3 separate regions of the Homo sapiens genome follow, and regions 1 and 2 are each linked to region 3. The links are contacts of gene promoters, found by promoter capture Hi-C in blood cells and fetal thymus (Javierre and others, 2016). All regions are on one chromosome and are shown on one strand. The core of a region is centred on a gene start or on the middle of the fragment in contact, and the rest is flanking DNA. Distances in the headings are between cores, read along the strand shown.

Region 1 (4,081 bases), core at 912-3,411, 670 kb before region 3:
AATTTTATAATCCAAATTACGTTTCCTAGCTCAGTTATCAATTCTGTTACTTAAAACAGAACTGACATTTTGAACTATTCCACAGTAAAGAATTACAAAATTAAAGAAAGGAATGCTTTAAATTTTTGCACTTTGCTGAAAATTTTTTCCCAGAGTCTATAAAACATTAATTGGTTTTCATATTTTACTATTTTTGTGTTTTTTTAAAATTTTTAAATCAATAAGTAATCTAGGACTAGCATTATGTTTGCTAGACCTGGCATTTTCTCGGTACATAAGGTTCAAAGTTTCTTTTCCTTTTTAAATTTATTTTATATTTTGCAATGTTTATTAAAAAAATAATATTTACATTTTTCGATGTTTAGATATTTTTCTTCTGTGAAGCACAAGTTTCTTTTCATGGTACCTGATCAATTTTAAACAGTTGGAACACCGGTGGCACGGTTAACTGCTTTCTGGGCAGCCACTTCAGCTTGGTGGGCTTGTAGTACAGCTACAGTTTCATTAACCTTAGAACGGAGTGACTCTGGAGACTCCAGCATATGAAGAAGTTCTGAATTACCAATCTCCAACAACATGCCAGTGATTTTACCAGCAAGAGTAAGGTGCATGGCTTGAATAAGAGGAAACAGCCGTTCACCCAACATTTGCTTTTGCTCTTGAGCATGGGCAGATACCAACATGGAAGCAGTCAAAGGTTCCTGACCTTGTACATGAGCAGCAGGCTGTTGCATTGTAACTTGTGGCTGTGCATTAAGATGTTTCTGAGGACTGCGAACTCCCGCAGCATAGTTATAATGTGGAGTGGCAGCAGCAGCAGCTGCAGGACGTGGACCCATTGTCTGTGTCGATGTGTTAGCAACACGCTGTGTTGACATAACTCATGGAACCTGTGAAGAAGCTGGTCTCATAGTACTAAATGGTGGTCTAGGAGCAGCCGGGCGGATAGCACTGGGCCTATTTTGGAATGGATGGGGTCTGGCACCCTCAGCAGTCCAGCGAGGACTTGGTCTTAGTTGAGCAATTTGGCTAGGAGGATAGTATGCAGCACCGTTCTGAGTCTGTGGGATAGCTGCCATGAAGTAACCTGAAGGAGGTGCTGGCTGGTAGGGGTTGATTTCAAGATTGGGCACAGCTCGTACACTTGCCATTCTTTGCATATACTGGTTAGTGAGGTGAGCCTGGCACTCTTCTTTGCGCTGAGCTAAAGCAACATACAATGGCTTTGTGGCCACAATTCTACCATTCATTTCTGTAACTGCTTTAGTGGCTTCTTCTGGTGAGGAGAAACATACAAAACCAAACCCTTTGCAGCGACCACCCTCCATCATAACCTTTGCACTGGTGATTGTACCAAATGGAGAAAACTCTTTCCGGAGACGTTAATTATTAATGCCATCATCAAGATTTTTCACATAAAGATTAACACGGTGGTATCTGGTGATCCTATCTTGCCTCACCTGTTCAAATTTGCGCTTAAGTTCTGTCTGCCGTTCCACTTTTTTCTGAGCTCTACCTACATAAATTTGTTTTCCATTGAGCTCCTTTCATTTCATCCACAGCTTTCTGTGCATCTTCAAGCCTTTCAAAGCTTACAAATCCAAATCCTTTAGATTTTCCACTTTCACCAGTCATTACTTTCACATTTAAGGCAGGCCCAAACTTGCCAAAGAGATTCTTAAGGCGCTCATCATCCATGTCTTCTCCGAAATTCTTGATGTAAACATTGGTGAACTCTTTCACGTAGCTCCAAGTTCAGCTTCTCGTTCTTTATGAGACATAAATCGTCCAACAAATACTTTGCGATCATTTAGGAGCATTCCATTCATTTTTTCCATAGCTCTTTCAGCTGCTTCCTGTGTCTCAAAGTGTACAGATCCATAGCCCTTGGAATCATTTTCATCACAGCCCACCTTACATGAAAGGATGTTACCAAAAGCAGAAAAATGTATCATACAGTGCTTTATTATCAATGGATTTGTCCAGATTTTTAATGAATATGTAGCCCACTCCACTTTTGCGAAGTGATGGATCACGCTGAGACTACACGATGCGTACTGGCTTGCCCTTTATAACATCAAAATTCATAGTGTTCACAGCATGCTCCGCGTCCGCGGGCTACTGGAAGTTCACATACGCGTAGCCCAAGGAGCCGTGGGTGATCATGTCCCTGCAGACCCGGATGGAGAGGATGAGCCCGGCCGCGCTGAACTTCTTGTAGAGCATCGCCTCGGTCACGTCGGGATGGAGGTCCCCCACGTACAGCGAGGACGTAGCTGGGGGCACTGGGGTTCATCTCGGCACTGCTGCTCGCAGGGCCACAGGCCGCGACCTTTCCGTGAGAGGAGGAGAGCGAATGCTGGGGCTAGGGGCCGGAGCTGGGGGAAGGTGAGCGGGGGCAAGCGCAAGCGCAAGCGCAGAGGGACAAAAATCACCCGGAATCGAAAACTACTTCACCGCCCCAGAATGGTGTTGATCCGCTGCCGCTGGCTGCGGGCGAAGGTGGAGGTGTCAGTCCGGACAGCGGGAAGGCCTCGGTCTCTTGGTTCCTTTTTGGAGCTGCTGCGGGCGGGCGAGTCGGCCTCGGCTGCTTCACGGGGTTACTTTATAAAAGAAGAAGAAGAAAAAAATAAAAGTCTATGGCAGGGGAGAGGCGGATTTTTTGTAAATTGTGGGAAAGTTTTTAAAATATTTTTTTAGATTTTTTTTTAATAATAAATGTATGTTCCGAGCCTGGAGCACACACTCCGCACTCTGAGCACTAACTGCCGGGAGAAGGGGCTAATTTTTGTATTTTCAGTAGAAACGGGGTTTCACCATGTTGGCCAGGCTGGTATGGAACTCCTGACCTCAGGTAATCTGTCCGCCTAGCCCTCCCAAAGTGCTGGGATTACAGGCGTGAGCCACCACGCCCGGCCAGTTTTTCTTTTTTTCTGATGTAGGCACTTGTAGCTATAAAATTCCCTCTTAGTACTGCTTTTGCTGTATCCCATAGGTTTTGGTATGTTGTGTTTCCATTATCATTTGATTCAATAAATATTTCAATTTCCTTTTTAATTACTTCATTGATCCACTGGTCGTTCAGGAGTATATTGTTTAATTTCCATATGTTTGCATAGTTTCCAAAATTCCTCTTGTTATTAATTTCTAGTTTTGTTTCATTGTGGTCAGAGAAAATGCTTGATATTATTTCAGGGTTTTTTTTAGACTGAGTCTCCCTCTGTCACCCGGGCTGGAGTGCAGTGGCGTGATCTCAACTCATTGCAACCTCTGCCTCCTGGGTTCGAGTGACTCCCTTGCCTCAGCCTCCCGAGTAGCGGGGACTACAGGTGTGTTCCACCATGCCTGGCTAGTTTTTGCATTTTTAGTAGAGATGGGGTTTCACTATGTTGGCCAGGCTGGTCTCAAACTCCTGACCTTGTGATCTGCCTGCCTCGGCCTCCCAAAGTGTTGGGTTACAGGCATGAGCCACTGCACCCGGCCCAGTTTTTTTTTTTTTTTTTTTAATGTTTTAAGACTTATTTTGTGACCTAATAGATGGTCTATTCTTGAGAATAATCTATGTGCTGAGGAAAATAATGTGTGTTCTGCAGCCATTGGATGAAATGTTCCATAAATATCTATTAGATCCGTTTGTTTTATAATGCAGATTAGGTCCAATTCATTAATTTTCTATCTGGAAGATCTGTCCAGTGCTGAAAGTGGGGTGTTGAAGTCTTCAGGTAGTATCATATTGGGAACTATCTCTCTCTTTAGCTCTAATAATATTTACTTTATATATCTGAGTGCTCCAGTGTTGGGCACATATACATTTAAAATTGTTATATCCTCTTGCTGAACTGACCCCTTTATCCTTACATAGTGACCTTCTTTGTCTCTTCTTTAGATTTGTCTTGAAATCGATTTTGTCTAAGTATAGCTACTCCTGCTCTTTTTTGGTTTTTATTGGCAGGGAGTATCTTTCTATCCCTTTATTTTCAGTCTATGTGTGTCTTTGTAGGTGAAGTGTCTTTCTTGTAAGCAACAGATCAGTGGGTCTTATTTTTTTATCCATTTAGCTACTCTATGTCTTTTGATTGGA
Region 2 (4,347 bases), core at 1,570-4,069, 610 kb before region 3:
TATCTGGGTTTCTGAGCCATTTTACTTTATTATGAATATAAACTACTTGAGATACAGAATCTTCAGCTGGATGTCAACATGATGAAACAGTCAACTTTACAATAGAAAAGACTAGGATGAGAGAGTTCTTTAAATGACTTGTTTAAAGTCACAAGGTAGTTTGTAGCAGAATTCATGCTAAAATTTAGAAGCCTCTTTGTCTAATCTGTCTACTCCCACTATGTTACATTGACTTTCTCTATATTTATACACAAAAAGACACAAAAACTCACATGTAATCCATTGTCACACAAAGTCAAACATATATAAAGCCTTACCCAGAATATTGACCTTGTAATTGTAATTTTCATAAAATCAAACGAATTTCTACATTTTTTGATAAAGGATATTGGATAGGAGAGTGTAAATACATTTATTGTTTTGTTTTGTTTTTTTGAGACAGAGTCTCGCTCTGTTGCCCAGGCTGGAATGCAATGGCATGATCTCAGCTCACTGCAATCTCTACCTCTTGGGTTCAAGCGATTCTCCTTGCCTCAGCCTCCGAAGTAGCTGGGATTACAGGTACCCACTAGCATGCCCGGCTAATTTTTGTGTTTTTAGTAGAGATGGGGTTCGTCATGTTGGCCAGGTTGGTCTCGAACTTCTGACCTCAGGTGATCCGCCCACCTCAGCCTCCCAAAGTGCTGGGATTACAGGCATGAGGCACCATGCCCGGCCAATATACTTATTGTTATGCAATAATTCTAACATTTAACAAATAAGTTGTATCCTTCATGGATTTTAGGTGGACACTTGCAGATAAAGATTTCTACCATCTCCCTGGTTCACTGAGTGCTGTAAGAACCAGGTGCCCCAGCTGGAAAGCCTTGGTTTCAGACATGTCTGATTGTGGTAGGCAGAATTAAAGCCCCCAAGAACACTCTGTAGCCCCTAATCCCTGGCAGCATGAATATATTATCTTACATGGCAAAGGGAACTTTGCAGATATAAATAGAGTTACTAATTATTTAATCTTAAAATAAGGAGATTCTTGGATTTTCTGGGTAGACCCAATGTATTCACATGAACCCTCAAACCAGAAGAATAAGGCAGAAGAAGAAGGCAGGAAGTTAGAGAGATGTAACAGAAGACATCCGATTGATTTGAAATGTAAGAAGGAATTGAATGTTGCTGGCTTTGAAGGAGCGGAGCATAACCCCAAGGACAATTGGCAACTTCCAGAAGCTGAAAATGAGCCCTGGCCCACAGCCAGCAAGGCAACAGGACCCACCATACTGGCAATCTGAATAAGCATGGAAGCAGGGTCTCCCCCAGAGCCTCCAGATAAGAGTCCAGACCAGCCAGCACTTTGATGACCTCTGACCAGAGGACCCAGCTGAGCCTCCCCTGGAATTCTGACCTGTAGAACTGTGAGATAATGCTTGGGTGTTGCCGTAAGCCACTTCATTTGTGGTAATTCGTTAAAGCAGCAATAGTGAAGGAATATACTATTCATGTATGGAAGCTGGAAGGATGGACCACCAGGGGTGTCATGACTAAGATGCTTCCTGGGGACGCACTGGGCTTAAGAGAAGAGAGAGCTGGGGTACTTAGGGTTTTCCTTTACAGTGTGGCAGTATCAGAAGACAGAGACAATTTTGAGTGTCCAGCTTTGTGTATCTACTCAAATTGCTAGTCAGGTCAGTGCCTTTCACTCACGCTGAAGGCTTTATCTTCAATAAAGAGGGAATCTAAAAATCCTGAGCTGTTACACAAAAAGGTACTTAAGACTTTTGAAACTATCAGATGCTATATATATATACATATATAGCATGTAACAGAGCTTAGCAAAAAACTGAGTTAAGGTTACTTTCCTCACAGGAAGGTTTCTACTGAAGCATATTGGAACCCACATGTTCAAAATGGCTTGGACAGTAAAAGAGCCACTTCAGAGAAGACACGGTAGAGGACCCTCAGTTTTAGAGGACTGTGTTTCTAAAGCAACCTCAGTAGCTTTAGAATTGCAGTGTTTTTATGCTGCTGACTTTTACTTAAATTGTATAATTTACTCAGATAGTTTAAACTACTTACCTAAGATCACTGAACAAGGTAGAATCAAAACTTATATCTCCAGCTTTAAAATATATAACCTGATTGTAGACTGTGGTCTATTCCCTATTCTAATAAAAGAGTGCTGAAATTCAGCATTACCTAAAAATGGTAGATCTTGGAACACATATTTGGTCTAAACTGGCTCTTTTTAATTTTTTTAAAATTTTATTTAAAAAATTGAGGCAGGGTCTTGCCATATTGCCTAGGTTGGTCTTGAACTCCTGGGCTCAAGCAATTTTCCTGCCTTGGCCTCCAAAAGTGCGAGGATTACAGAAGTGAGCCACCAGGCCTGGTTTAAACTGGCTCTTTTGATTCAAAATGTTGTATTCCCCAAGGGTGATATAAGTTAGCTTAAAATTATTTATATGTTGAACTTGGGGCTGCAGAAATTTCTTTTACCAGAAGTAAGAGGCATTAAATAGACTTTGAAAAAGCCTACAAAGTCCTGAGAAAAAGATCTCCAAGTTAAATATGGCCTCTATGGAAATGATTAATGAAGTTTTCTTGGCTAGGTTGTGATCATATGTATGTAAACTTGCCTAATCCTTGTTTTATTGTTGCAGATTACTTTTGCCAAAAATTGCCAAATAAAAAGTGTTTATATTGGAGCTATGACTGCATATAAATGAAGGAGTTTTCTAAAAGGTAGTGTCAAATGGAAGATTTGGGATTACAAGAATGATTCTAGAGGGGTGGGAGTGAGGTGGAAATGGCGTAAGAAAAGTGGGAAGATGAGGAAATCATGGAGTATTTGGAAAGTAGGGAAGCACCCTGACTGGATTGCAGAGTTTATGCTGGAAGAAATGAAAGTTTATACTGGGGTTGACCTAGATTGTTAGTTAAGATTCACTATGTCTTATGGATCCAGCAATGTCTTCAGAACAACAGAGATCTCACCTACAGGGGAGCTTCCGTGAGGCCACATAAAGGGTGTTCCAAAATCAAGACTGCCACCAACACCTCTGCTGCCACTGTGCTTTTGCTTCTGGCACCCAGCAAACCAAAGAATGAATATTCAAAACTCCTAACAGGGAACCAGCTGAAACATAGTCATTTCCAAGATGATATTTGCTTGCAAAGACTGCTAAAGAACTGACTGGAAGATGACCTGTGATTAGTTTCTGCTCTTTAAATCTTACCCGTTAGGCATAGGATACATGCAGAATGTTAGCTGAAGGCAGTGAGTGTAACATTTTTAGCTTTTCAATTTCTCGAACTACAAGACAAGTTGATAAGACTCTGTGAATCAGTCCACAATTTCCATCACATTTGGGTAGGTCATGAAAGTCTGGGACCATAAAACTAAGGAATTTAACATAATCTTGGAAAGAAAAAAGCTCATATATATTATTGAGTGCTTACCATATTCCAGAAACAGCTCAAACCACTTTTATATATAGTGTCTTGTTCAATTTTCTCAAAAATCCTATGAGGAATTATCCCCAACTTACAAATGAGGAAACTGAGGCACAGAGAGGTTAAATTATTTGACAAAGGTCATAGAGCTAGCAGCTTGAGCTCATGAACCCCTGTTCTTAAATACCATGGTATACTGCTCCTTGGGGGCAGAATCAAGGTAGCATTCCTCAAGGTGGTAATGCATCAATTAAGTGTTAAAGCATGAATAGTGGTTTTCCAGGCAAAGAGAGAAAAGCACTTTCTAGGGAAAGGTATGAAGGTGGGATGGAGCAGGACTCATTCAGCAAATTGCTGTTGGTTTTATTCGGCTGCTGTGTAGGGTATGAGATGAAGTACCAAGAGATGGCATTAGAGAGGTAATCATGGAATAGATCCTAATAGGCCTTCGGTTCCCAGCTAAGACATTTGAATTAAACTAATCAGATTTTCATTTTGAAAGATTCATTTTATTAAACTATGAAATATAAGTTAGATGGAGGCATGGCAATACTTATTTAGGAATTGCTGTAGTCCAGATGAGAAATGATGAGACTGAAAAAATAAGAGGACATGAGAAAAATTTAGGTGGTAGGATCACAGGTACATAGCAACCAACGGATGTGGAGGGAGGAGTGTGGGATTATTTCTAGATTTCTGATAGTAGTACCATTCACTGGGCCATAGAAGTGGGAGGAGGTAGGTTCCATTTTGTACATACTGAAACGGAAGTATCTGGGGGATACGAGTGGAAATTGTTGGTAGACTTTAGGCTCTAGCTACTCGAAGTGAAAAGTAGAACCAGAAACATTCTGGCTGTAAAACCCCATGCTCTGGACAACCCCAGGAAGAAAATAAATC
Region 3 (3,796 bases), core at 56-2,555:
ACCTTGGTAACTCTGCATGAACGGACTGGATAGTAAAGTGGAATTATTACTGAGAACTGCAATGAATAAAATCTTTTGCATTTTTTGCCTACGTTTCACAGAGGGTGATATTTTTCTGAGGCAATTAAATTTATACCACGGCCACAATACTGAAACGTTCTGACCAACAAAGTCATGCTCCTGCATCTACACAGCAGATAACTGCAGAAACGGCTTCCTTTCTTCCTTGTAAAATTGCCTGAAAACAGCTCCCCCTTGCTGTCCGTCGAGGCATATCTTCACCAACGTTAAAACAGAGCTGAGGGAGATCGCATTTCTGCCTCCCTCCCGCCCTGCAGAGGGGCTCCAGCTGTTCAGAGTAACGGATTACTAGGTAGGTGGTTGTTTCCCCTCCTTCCCAGGGCCTCTTTCCTCTCTTTGAGATTGCCTCTTTCTTACTCCTGAGCACAGGAGCCGGGCGGGTTTTCTGTCCCTTGCCCTGGACAGCACTGCCTGGATGGCCGCTGTCCGGCAGCTGCTCTTTGTCCACCCAAAAAGATGTCCCCACGACTCAGTAGTAACCAGACGGTCCCCACGGACCACTGCGGCCAAATTTCCGCCATCCCCGCTGTGGGAATCAGGCTTTTCCCGCAGAAAACCCCAGGAATCTAGAGAAAACTCCTTAAGTCCCTAGTCTCCATAGAGAAAACCAGGAGACACTCCCCCCAAACCCCGCTGTGAATACAGGCACAGCAGCCACTGGGGCTGCAAAGTGATGAGTGCGTTCTTCCCGTCGCAAACATAGGGTAATAAATAGCATGCATCAAAGACGTTACTAGGAAGAGATAGCTCTTTAAGTCACGAGCGGGGAGAAATGTTTGCCCCGGGAAAATTTGCCTGGGGAATAAAATTTGCCAGACTGCTGCACGGGTGAGCTCGGTGAGAAGGAAGAAACCCGGACTGGAGGAGGTGAGGTCGAGAGCCAGGTTCAGGTGCAGGAGCTAGATGCGTGGACGCCGGTGCGTGGACTGGAGGTTTCCAGGTACCGCGCTTAGCGTGCCTGTTGAAGTCAAATGCATGGTTAAGGAGGCTAGCGAGGAAGGCTAGTGAGGGAAGCTTGTGGAAACGGCTACGAGCCCAGAAAAGGCATGACTCGTCCAGTTGTCCAAGTTTTTGGAAGGGAAAAGCGGGAAAGCGCCACGATCCCACCTACTGTGAGGAGGAATCTGCGAGTCTCCCAGCTCCACCCCCTCCACAGTGATGCAGAGGACAAACACCGACGTAGGGAGAGGAAAAAATAAAACTCCAGGGAGCGGGGAGTAGGCAACCAGCAGTCTTCCGGCAATAGGGCGGGAGGGAGCGCGTCCCAAGGAAACAAGCACCGCATAAATACTTGAGTTGGGAACCCAGTGCTTCCGGAAGCTCGGAGCTCACCTTCCCGACCTCGCCGAAGTTGAAAAAAGGCAGAGCAGGGAGAGGGGCCAGCTCACCCTGCTGAGAGCTGCTCAGTGGGCAGGCGGGACGCTGCTCCGGGAGACGCCCACTGGAGGGATCGCAGAGCCCGGCAAGCTGCGAGCGCGCCAAAGACCCTGCGCTTCGGACGAGGAGCCCAAGTCCTCCGAGACGGGGAGGGAGCGGCCCGCGAGGGCTGGAGCTCCGAAGAGGGCCGAGTAGGAGCTGCATGGACAGCATGCGTCTCTCCGCCGGTCCCGACGCGGGGCCCTCGGGCAACTCCAGCCCATGGTGGCCTCTGGCCACCGGCGCTGGCAACACAAGCCGGGAGGCCGAAGCCCTCGGGGAGGGCAACGGCCCACCGAGGGACGTGCGCAACGAGGAGCTGGCCAAACTGGAGATCGCCGTGCTGGCGGTGACTTTCGCGGTGGCCGTGCTGGGCAACAGCAGCGTACTGCTGGCTCTGCACCGGACGCCGCGCAAGACGTCCCGCATGCACCTCTTCATCCGACACCTCAGCCTGGCCGACCTGGCCGTGGCATTCTTCCAGGTGCTGCCGCAAATGTGCTGGGACATCACCTACCGCTTCCGCGGCCCCGACTGGCTGTGCCGCGTGGTGAAGCACCTGCAGGTGTTCGGCATGTTTGCGTCGGCCTACATGCTGGTAGTCATGACAGCCGACCGCTACATCGCGGTGTGCCACCCGCTCAAGACTCTGCAACAGCCCGCGCGCCGCTCGCGCCTCATGATCGCGGCCGCCTGGGTGCTGAGCTTCGTGCTGAGCACGCCGCAGTACTTCGTCTTCTCCATGATCGAGGTGAACAATGTCACCAAGGCCCGCGACTGCTGGGCCACCTTCATCCAGCCCTGGGGTTCTCGTGCCTACGTGACCTGGATGACGGGCGGCATCTTTGTGGCGCCCGTGGTCATCTTGGGTACCTGCTACGGCTTCATCTGCTACAACATCTGGTGCAACGTCCGCGGGAAGACGGCGTCGCGCCAGAGCAAGGGTGCAGAGCAAGCGGGTGTGGCCTTCCAAAAGGGGTTCCTGCTCGCACCCTGTGTCAGCAGCGTGAAGTCCATTTCCCGGGCCAAGATCCGCACGGTGAAGATGACTTTTGTGATCGTGACGGCTTACATCGTCTGCTGGGCGCCTTTCTTCATCATCCAGATGTGGTCTGTCTGGGATCCCATGTCCGTCTGGACCGGTACGTGCCGGGAAAATAGAGGAAAGTGCAGGGATAGGAGTGTGTGTGTGTGTGTGTGTGTGTGTGTGAGAGAGAGAGAGAGAGAGAGAGAGAGAAAAAAATGAGAATCTAGCAATTTTCTTCATAGTATCTTCTAGGGCAGTAGTTTTTAAACTTCTATGTGTACATAAGAGTCGCACCTTGGAGGAACACTGTTTAAAAAAAAAAAAAGCATATTCCTGGATTCCCCATGCAGACATTCTAATTAAGAATGTCTGGAATGGGGCTCAGGACTCTGCATTTGTAGTGTGCAATGATCCTAAGACCACAATTCCAGAAACTGTGTCCTAGAGTCAGCCAAGCAACTACAAAGCCGAAGAATGACTTTTGCTAAATCACTAGCTACTGTATTAACACCATTTCAGGTCTATTGGATTCAGGGAAATATTTTTACTGTCACAACTGCTTTTTGTTGGATTGTGAAAAGTATTACAATTAATTTTAAAAATGTGTAGAAATGCCTCAGGGGCAAGGATAGAAACAGATATATATTTCTAAAGAAAGCTGGAGAAAAATTCTTTAGAAGGTGAGTAATTCCAATTTGGCATTTAGCTAATAATGTTCCTTTCTCGTTATAATCTATTTTTTTCTAACAATGATTAATAGTTTTTTCTTGGTATTTCAAAGCAGAATTATTGATAAACTAAATTCATTAGACTAATTCATTAGTCTTTCACCACTCATTTGACCACACGGCTCTACATCTCTCCACCCAACTCTTACAGTAGTTTACTGGAAATGTTCTCTGCACCTACTATTGTGTTTGATTTTAATTCCTTCCCAAACTAGAAAAACTAACTTCACAGTGACTTGCAAAAAAAATTATTTAATTTTGCATCTTGAAAATATTTTCTTCTAGTAAAGACAAAAACTCAAACTAAATAAATTCCAGTGCTTGTCGGAACTCAAACCAAATAAATTCAATGGTACAGTTGTTACCAGAATGTTTCTGGTAACAGGAAATAGGTATCTGGGAGTAGCTGTTCTCCTTTTGCTTTTTGGAATTGGAGTAGGGGAGGTATGTAATATGCTTTGGAAGTTATATTTGCAAATAAAACATTTCAGTATGAATTTAACTTAAATATTCTTACTGACTATAATACTAGCGATAATGAAAA

Evidence for each region. The method cuts DNA at HindIII sites, captures the fragments that hold promoters and counts their contacts. A CHiCAGO score of 5 or more calls a contact.
Region 1: a contact is called between the fragment with the promoter of RXYLT1-AS1 here and the fragment with the promoter of AVPR1A in region 3, in 2 of 17 cell types (M0 macrophages and M2 macrophages). The highest score is 6.4, in M0 macrophages.
Region 2: a contact is called between a fragment that was not itself captured here and the fragment with the promoter of AVPR1A in region 3, in 2 of 17 cell types (M2 macrophages and endothelial precursors). The highest score is 5.2, in M2 macrophages.

The regions. Positions count from the first base shown.
Region 1 is chr12:63,820,236-63,824,316 of GRCh38, reverse strand. RXYLT1-AS1 (RXYLT1 antisense RNA 1) reads left to right here and starts at 2,161. Exons shown (of 4, transcript NR_126167.1): 1 at 2,161-2,388. It overlaps MIR10527 (microRNA 10527), which reads right to left and starts at 654; the gene lies at 590-654. It also overlaps the pseudogene PABPC1P4. The HindIII fragment of the contact is 5,765 bases long and covers 1,594-4,081 here.
Region 2 is chr12:63,755,251-63,759,597 of GRCh38, reverse strand. No RefSeq gene overlaps it. Among named protein-coding and RNA genes, the nearest start is that of RXYLT1, 22 kb to the left of the region's middle. The HindIII fragment of the contact is 6,982 bases long and covers 1-4,347 here.
Region 3 is chr12:63,148,710-63,152,505 of GRCh38, reverse strand. It overlaps AVPR1A (arginine vasopressin receptor 1A), which reads left to right and starts at 1,305. Exons shown (of 2, transcript NM_000706.5): 1 at 1,305-2,639. The coding sequence starts at 1,670. The HindIII fragment of the contact is 3,248 bases long and covers 1,098-3,796 here.